Linked DNA regions of Homo sapiens: region 2 is linked to region 1. Evidence: promoter capture Hi-C in 16 types of primary human blood cells and fetal thymus (Javierre and others, 2016). All regions are on one chromosome and are shown on one strand. Each heading gives the region's core, a stretch centred on a gene start or on the middle of the fragment in contact. The rest is flanking DNA. Distances are from core to core; before and after follow the strand shown. Region 1 holds the start of OXA1L (OXA1L mitochondrial inner membrane insertase). Region 2 has its middle 150 kb from the start of OR4E1.

The links. The method cuts DNA at HindIII sites, captures the fragments that hold promoters and counts their contacts. A CHiCAGO score of 5 or more calls a contact.
Region 2: a contact is called between a fragment that was not itself captured here and the fragment with the promoter of OXA1L in region 1, in 1 of 17 cell types (total CD8 T cells). The highest score is 5.2, in total CD8 T cells.

What each region holds. Positions count from the first base shown.
Region 1 is chr14:22,765,035-22,768,091 of GRCh38, reverse strand. It overlaps OXA1L (OXA1L mitochondrial inner membrane insertase), which reads right to left and starts at 1,404. Exons shown (of 10, transcript NM_005015.5): 1 at 1,328-1,404; 2 at 683-844; 3 at 1-134. The coding sequence starts at 1,390. It overlaps OXA1L-DT (OXA1L divergent transcript), which reads left to right and starts at 1,530. Exons shown (of 3, transcript XR_001750638.3): 1 at 1,530-1,668. RefSeq lists enhancers at 1,296-1,525, 1,119-1,682, 1,683-2,245, 2,246-2,809. The HindIII fragment of the contact is 1,636 bases long and covers 278-1,913 here.
Region 2 is chr14:21,825,697-21,828,753 of GRCh38, reverse strand. It overlaps TRA and TRAV10. Among named protein-coding and RNA genes, the nearest start is that of OR4E1, 150 kb to the right of the region's middle. The HindIII fragment of the contact is 3,707 bases long and covers 1-3,057 here.

The DNA of each region.
Region 1 (3,057 bases), core at 155-2,654:
GTGTATGACCCCAGCCCCAGTTCAGCGAAGCTCTGCTCTGCAGCAGTTTGGACTACATCTGCAGTCTCTCCAGAAGCCACCTCAGGTACTGCTGTGGGTGAGGGAGTTGCAGCAACAACAGGAGGGGCCTGAACCTGTGTGAAAGAAAGCCTTGTATTATATTTATTCAGTAGCGAACACAAAGCAAGTGAGATCTTTTTATAATAACCAGTACTGGGTTCTGTTCTCTCTACTTCTTGTTCTTCCAGGTTAGCCTAGTGTCTGCAGATTTCAAGCTTAAAAAGGACATCTCATTTTTATCAATAGTTAGGAAGAGAAGTTACTTTGAGTAAGAATCCATGACTTCCCTTCATGCTGGGAAGTTATTTCTTTTATCACTGTTTTCCAAACTTCAGCCATTTGAATATCACTATCATGATTTTTGCCATATATTAACATGAAACAATTGCTTTTCTTTAAAACAGCTCAGAAAACCAAATATAACATCTCTCCTGTTGTACTTTCAATCATTTCCCCACTGAATTGAAAATCCATCCTAAGCAGAGATGCTATCATTTTGGAGAGCTGTGTGGAGCGTGGACAAGAACTCTGCTCCATATTCCCCCTGCTCCCAAACAAAACAAAATATGAAACCAACCAGGAAACACCACTCCTAATATTGCAGGAACGAAAGGCCTCTTACCTGGACTTCTGCAAAAGAGATAGCAGAGGTACTGAGGCTGCGGGGGCCGGAAGCCGCAAGGAAGAGGTAGTGTGGGCGACAGCAGCACGGGGCTGCTGGGAATAGGAGCCGTGTGGTCAGCGGTTTCCCAAGCCATTGCGAGGGCCCTGCGACGCTGTGGACCTGAGCGTGTAAAAGGATGATGGAGCCCCTTTACCGGGAGCAGAAGTCCTCGCGTGGGTGCAAACGGGATTCATTATGCTAACTCCCCAAGAAGCAGGCAGCTCGGCCACTACAGGGGAGGACATTGCTATCACCGCGCGCAGACCGCTAGCCCGAAGGCATGCAGCGGGTGGTGCCTGCAGAGCGAAGCTCGAACCTGGGTTCCCCGCATCTCAGTTATCGCAGACCCACATCGGAGGGCCCTGAGAACGAGGCCGAGGTGCTCTCGCCAGGAGCCAAGCCAATTCCAGAAGCTGACACCGGGCTGCTGGGCCCATAGTGTCGGGGACTAACCCTAGCGCGTCCTCACATGACCCGAGGTCATGACATTCAGGTCCCGGTGAGCAGGTCAGCGTCTGCTGATACCCCTAGCACGAGCTGTCCTGGGGCCTGGTTCACTGGGTCAGGGCAGCATCCCGGTGCTCTGCCCCGGGGCATCCTTACCCGACGCCCGGACTGTAGCAAGCGCAGAAGCTCCCGGCGTCCGCACATTAGTCCCATCGCCATTTTGCCCGGAAGAGGACTTGCTTTTGCGCCTGCGCAGTAAGAACCACAACCCCTCGAGAGGAAGCACTTTTGGAGGCGGGCATGAAGCCAGAATTGTAGCCGCAGATCAGGCGGTAAAAGAGAACGGAGCTTGGCGGCCATATTTGAAGTGGGTAAAAATCTGTAAAGCCACGTTACCATTAGCACGCAGAGAGCCTTTTCTGGAGATTGAAAGGAAGTTGAAGAGCTGGGTTAGCTATCATCGTAAGCTATCATCGTTAGTGATGGCGTAAACCTGGGTAATTTTCCTCTAATGTCGCGATTGTCCTCTGATTTGTAAGTTTAAAAATAGCCTCAGAAAAGGCTTGGCTGTACTTGCAGAGGATTTTTCCCACTCAATGATGTTCGATTCTTTTGATTCTTATTGCTAGGTAATATTGTAATCGCAGGTCCAGTGAAATTTGAGGGTAGTCTAGAGTCTGACAGAAATTAAAAGAAGGCAGCTTCTGGGAAATATTTTCCTCCCAGATAAAAAGACGAAGCTTCCAGAGGAGACTTCACCTTTCCATTTTTTTCTTCTGTAAGTGGGGTGGTGTGAGGACTGACCATGAGGGGACAAGTTTCCAGATGAAAAGCTCACGTGCAGGCCGGGCGCGGTGGCTCAGGTCTGTAATCCCAGTACTTTGGGAGGCCGAGGTGGGTGGATCACGAGATCAGGAGGTCGAGACCATCCTGGCCAACATGGTGAAACCCCATTTCTACTAAAAATACAAAAATTAGCCGGGCGTGGTGGTGGGCGCCTGTAATCCCAGCTACTCGGGAGGCTGAGGCAGGAGAATCACTTGAACCCGGGATGCAGAGGTTGCAGTGAGCCGGGATTGTGCCACTGCACTCCAGCCTGGGCAACAAGAGCGAGACTCCGTCTCAAAAAAAAAAAAAAAAAGGAAAGAAAAACTCACGTGCTGAAGATGGTTGAGGGCAAAGATAGAAAACACCCAAATACTTGATGATATCATTGAGCTGCTGTACCATGCTTGGAACTGCCTATCTCCAGACTTTGTTGTGTAAGTTAATTAAAGGTCTTGGCCGGGTGCAGTGGCTCATACCTGTAATCTCATCACTTTGGGAGGCTGAGGTGGTCTCGATAACTAGGTCAAGAGATCGAGACCAGCCTGGCCAACATGGTGAAATCCTGTCTCTACTAAAAATACAAAAAACAAAAAAACAAAATAACTAGGCGGGCGTGGTGGTGCATACCTGTAGTCCCAGCTACTAGGGAGGCTGAGGCAGGAGAATCGCTTGAATCCGGGAGGTGGAGGTTGCAGTGAGCCGAGGTGGAGCCACCTCACTCTAGCCTGGGCGACAGACTCCATCTCAAAAAAAAAAAAAAAAAGATGATTAAAGGTCTTTACTGTTTAGACTCTAAGTCTGTTGCTTGGGTGTTCTGTTTCTTGAAGTTAAAAGCATTCATCTTCAGGGAAAAAAGTTACTGGTCAGAAAGGTGGAGTTTGATTATGTTTGAACCCTTACAAAGTCTCTCAATATGCAGATTACTTTCTAAACAACAAATTATAGTTTCAGAAAGATACAATAACCTGAAATTATTTCAGTGACTGCTCATTTGGAACGATTATGAATGTACCTGACAGATATGGCGAAAATAGGAGGCAAAGAACTATAATACTGAT
Region 2 (3,057 bases), core at 369-2,868, 940 kb after region 1:
ATTTATGTCCAAGAATAACTACCATTAGTTGAAAAATTATTTTCTACCAATGCAATTCAATCATTTAATTAAATTCACTTAACTTAATTCAATCCTTATGACCATGTGATGTACGTGTAATTACCATTGATGGCGCGTAGGTGCTCTGAAGTTATGTAATTTTGTCCAGAGTAATGCAATTTAGTAAGTGATAGATAGAGCATTTCAATGCCTGTGCCTTTTACTCACCATATGAAACCTGCAAACTAAACTAAACTAAAGCAAGCAAGGAAATGCCTATATTGGAATGCAAACTTCCCAAGATATTCCTGTAAAAGAAAGTGAACGCAATAGACAAACATAGACTCAAGCCTCGTAATGGAAGGTCTTTTGTGTCTGCATTTATCTATTTTGTTTATTACCCTACTCCTTCTACCTACAAAAACACCTGTCACTTATTATTTGTTTTTTATTTCGTTTTGTTTTGTTTGAGACAGACTCTCATTCCATCGCCCAGGCTGGAGTGCAGATGTGCAATCACAGCTCACTGCAACCTCCGCCTCCTGGGTTCAAGATATTCTCCTGCCTCAGCCTCCCTAGTAGCTGGGATTACAGGTGCATGCCACCATGCCTGGCTAATTTTTGTATTTTTAGTAGAGACAGGGTTTCTTCATGTTGGCCAGGCTGGTCTCGAATGCCTGACTTCAAGTGATTCGCCCACCTTGGCCTCCCAAAGTGCTGGGATTACAAGCATGAGCCACGGCACCTGGCCTCATTATTTGTTTAATAAATAATTGTGTAATGAACAAATTCAATGTGTGTCTCTCCTTCAAGACCTAACTAAATTTGCTATTCCCCATGATACTTTCTCCTATCTTTTCTGTCCCACAGTAATCTCCTCCTGAGAATACCTTTAAAACTTATTTGTCCACGTACTTGGAATTTTACCTATTGATTCCATTTTCATGTATTTTATCTTTTTCCTCAATTAGTTTATGATTACTCACACAAGTCTGCTGTAGCAGCAATCTGAACTTTAATTTCTTCACTCTAAAGACTTGAAAGGAGATACAGGACAGGAAAAAATATCTGATTACTGAATATATCTAGGTTTACTTTTTGCTCCAGAAGTCAAGGCATTTTGATGTCTTGACACTTGAGCTATCTCCAGACTAGTTACAAAGAACAGTCCAGGTCCTGGCTTCATTTATTCACAAATTATCAATTCACTGAACTTGGAAATGAACTTACTTGCAGTGCTCATAAGCATAACAAATCAATCTTATTCAACAATATCCTGAAATGTGTGATCATCTTTAAATATCAATTCCTGTGAGTTGATAGTGACAGATGAGATGCATTCCTTTAAATTTTTTAAGACATTTGTTATTTTTTAATAATCTTTATTTTGACAGAAGAAAAATCCGAGAACTATAGAAAATTAAAAGTACAGAAGACAAGGAAAGATAAAAAGTAAAAACATTATATTCCCACAATACAAGGATTACCATTTTTAATATCTTAGTATATATTCTTCCCATTTTTTTACAGTTGATATCTGCCTTTTAAATAAGTACTTTTCTCATCTAATTCTCAAATTATATGTACATTTCTCTAATTGTCCCAAAAAGAACTTCACAGCTAAGTTGTGAAAACCAGAGTTCACAATTGCAGGTAGGCATTCTGTCCCTAAGTCTCTTTTCTAGAACACTGATGGTTGAAAAGCCTGGCACAGTTGTTCTGCTGCCTGAGAGTGACTGTGTCTGCCAGGATCCCCTGGCCTTCCAGTGTCCTCTAAAGGAGCAGTGATGGAAGATAATAAAGAGTTGATGCAGCACCTGGACAAAAGCCTTGATCTGGAGCATAGCTAAATGGGAAGAGCAGATTTATTCTCACAGGATGCTTTCTGAGAACTTGAATAGCCATGAAATGACAACTGAATGTCTTTCAGGGGAAGGAAACTTCTCAAGATATTTCCGGCCAGGAGCAGTGGCTCACGCCTGTAATCCCAGCACTTTGGGAGGCCAAGATGGGTGGATCACGAGGTCAGGAGATCGAGACCATCCTGGCTAACACGGTGAAACCCCATCTCTACTAAAAATACAAAAAAATTAGCCGGGCGTGGTGGTGGGCGCCTGTAGTCCCAGCTACTCAGGAGGCTGAAGCAGGAGAATGGCATGAACCCGGGAGGTGGAGCTTGCAGTGAGCCGAAATCACGCCACTGCACTCCAGCCTGGGCGACTGAGTGAGACTCCATCTCAAAAAAAAAAAAAAAAAAAAAAAAAAATTTCCATCAGCCACATAAACTTGTTGCTCTTTCACTTAGTTGACATTCTGCTGGTAGGTGTCCAGATCAAAAACCAAGCTAGTCTCTCCCTTCCAAACAACACTGTCATCTACTTCAGCAATAGTAACACAGCATGACAGACTGTCTTGCCCTTGGGAACACCCAGATGTAGCAATTAACTTTGTGTGTTGAGTGAGAATGTCTTTATCCTCGCTTGAGGACATGTATTCTACTTGAGCCTAAGTAGAACTTTAGGCTCAAGCTCAAATCAAATCATGTCGGAGAGATAAATATTCACTAGTGAAATCATATTCTGCATAAAAAATAACGGTCTACTCTAACTCCTATGCCTCCTTGATAACCTCCAGGTGCAGGTTTGCATACTGGCTTCAAGTGCCTGTGGAGCACAGTGCGCTCACCACACAGATGTAGGAGGCTGAATCGCTGAGCTGGGAGGCTGTGATGTGCAGAGAGCTTTGCTTTGTGTCTGCATCCAGAGTTGCTGTATATCTTCCGTTCGACTTTGTGTTCTCACTGAAAGTCATGATTGTCAGGGAAACAGGACCTCTCCCCGTATCTTGCTTATACCACCTTAAGTTGCTGAAGGGGCTCACTGTATAATTGCATTGAAGAGTGCAGTTCTTTCCCTCCAGGATGATCAGGGACTGAGGACTCTGCTCCACTTGGTTTTTGCCATTCCCCCCTATTCAGAAAGAAAAGTGAGATTCAAGAGATCCATCATCCAGTATTAATACTGTCTAATTTGCATCCCTTCCTTACTCCCCACAATG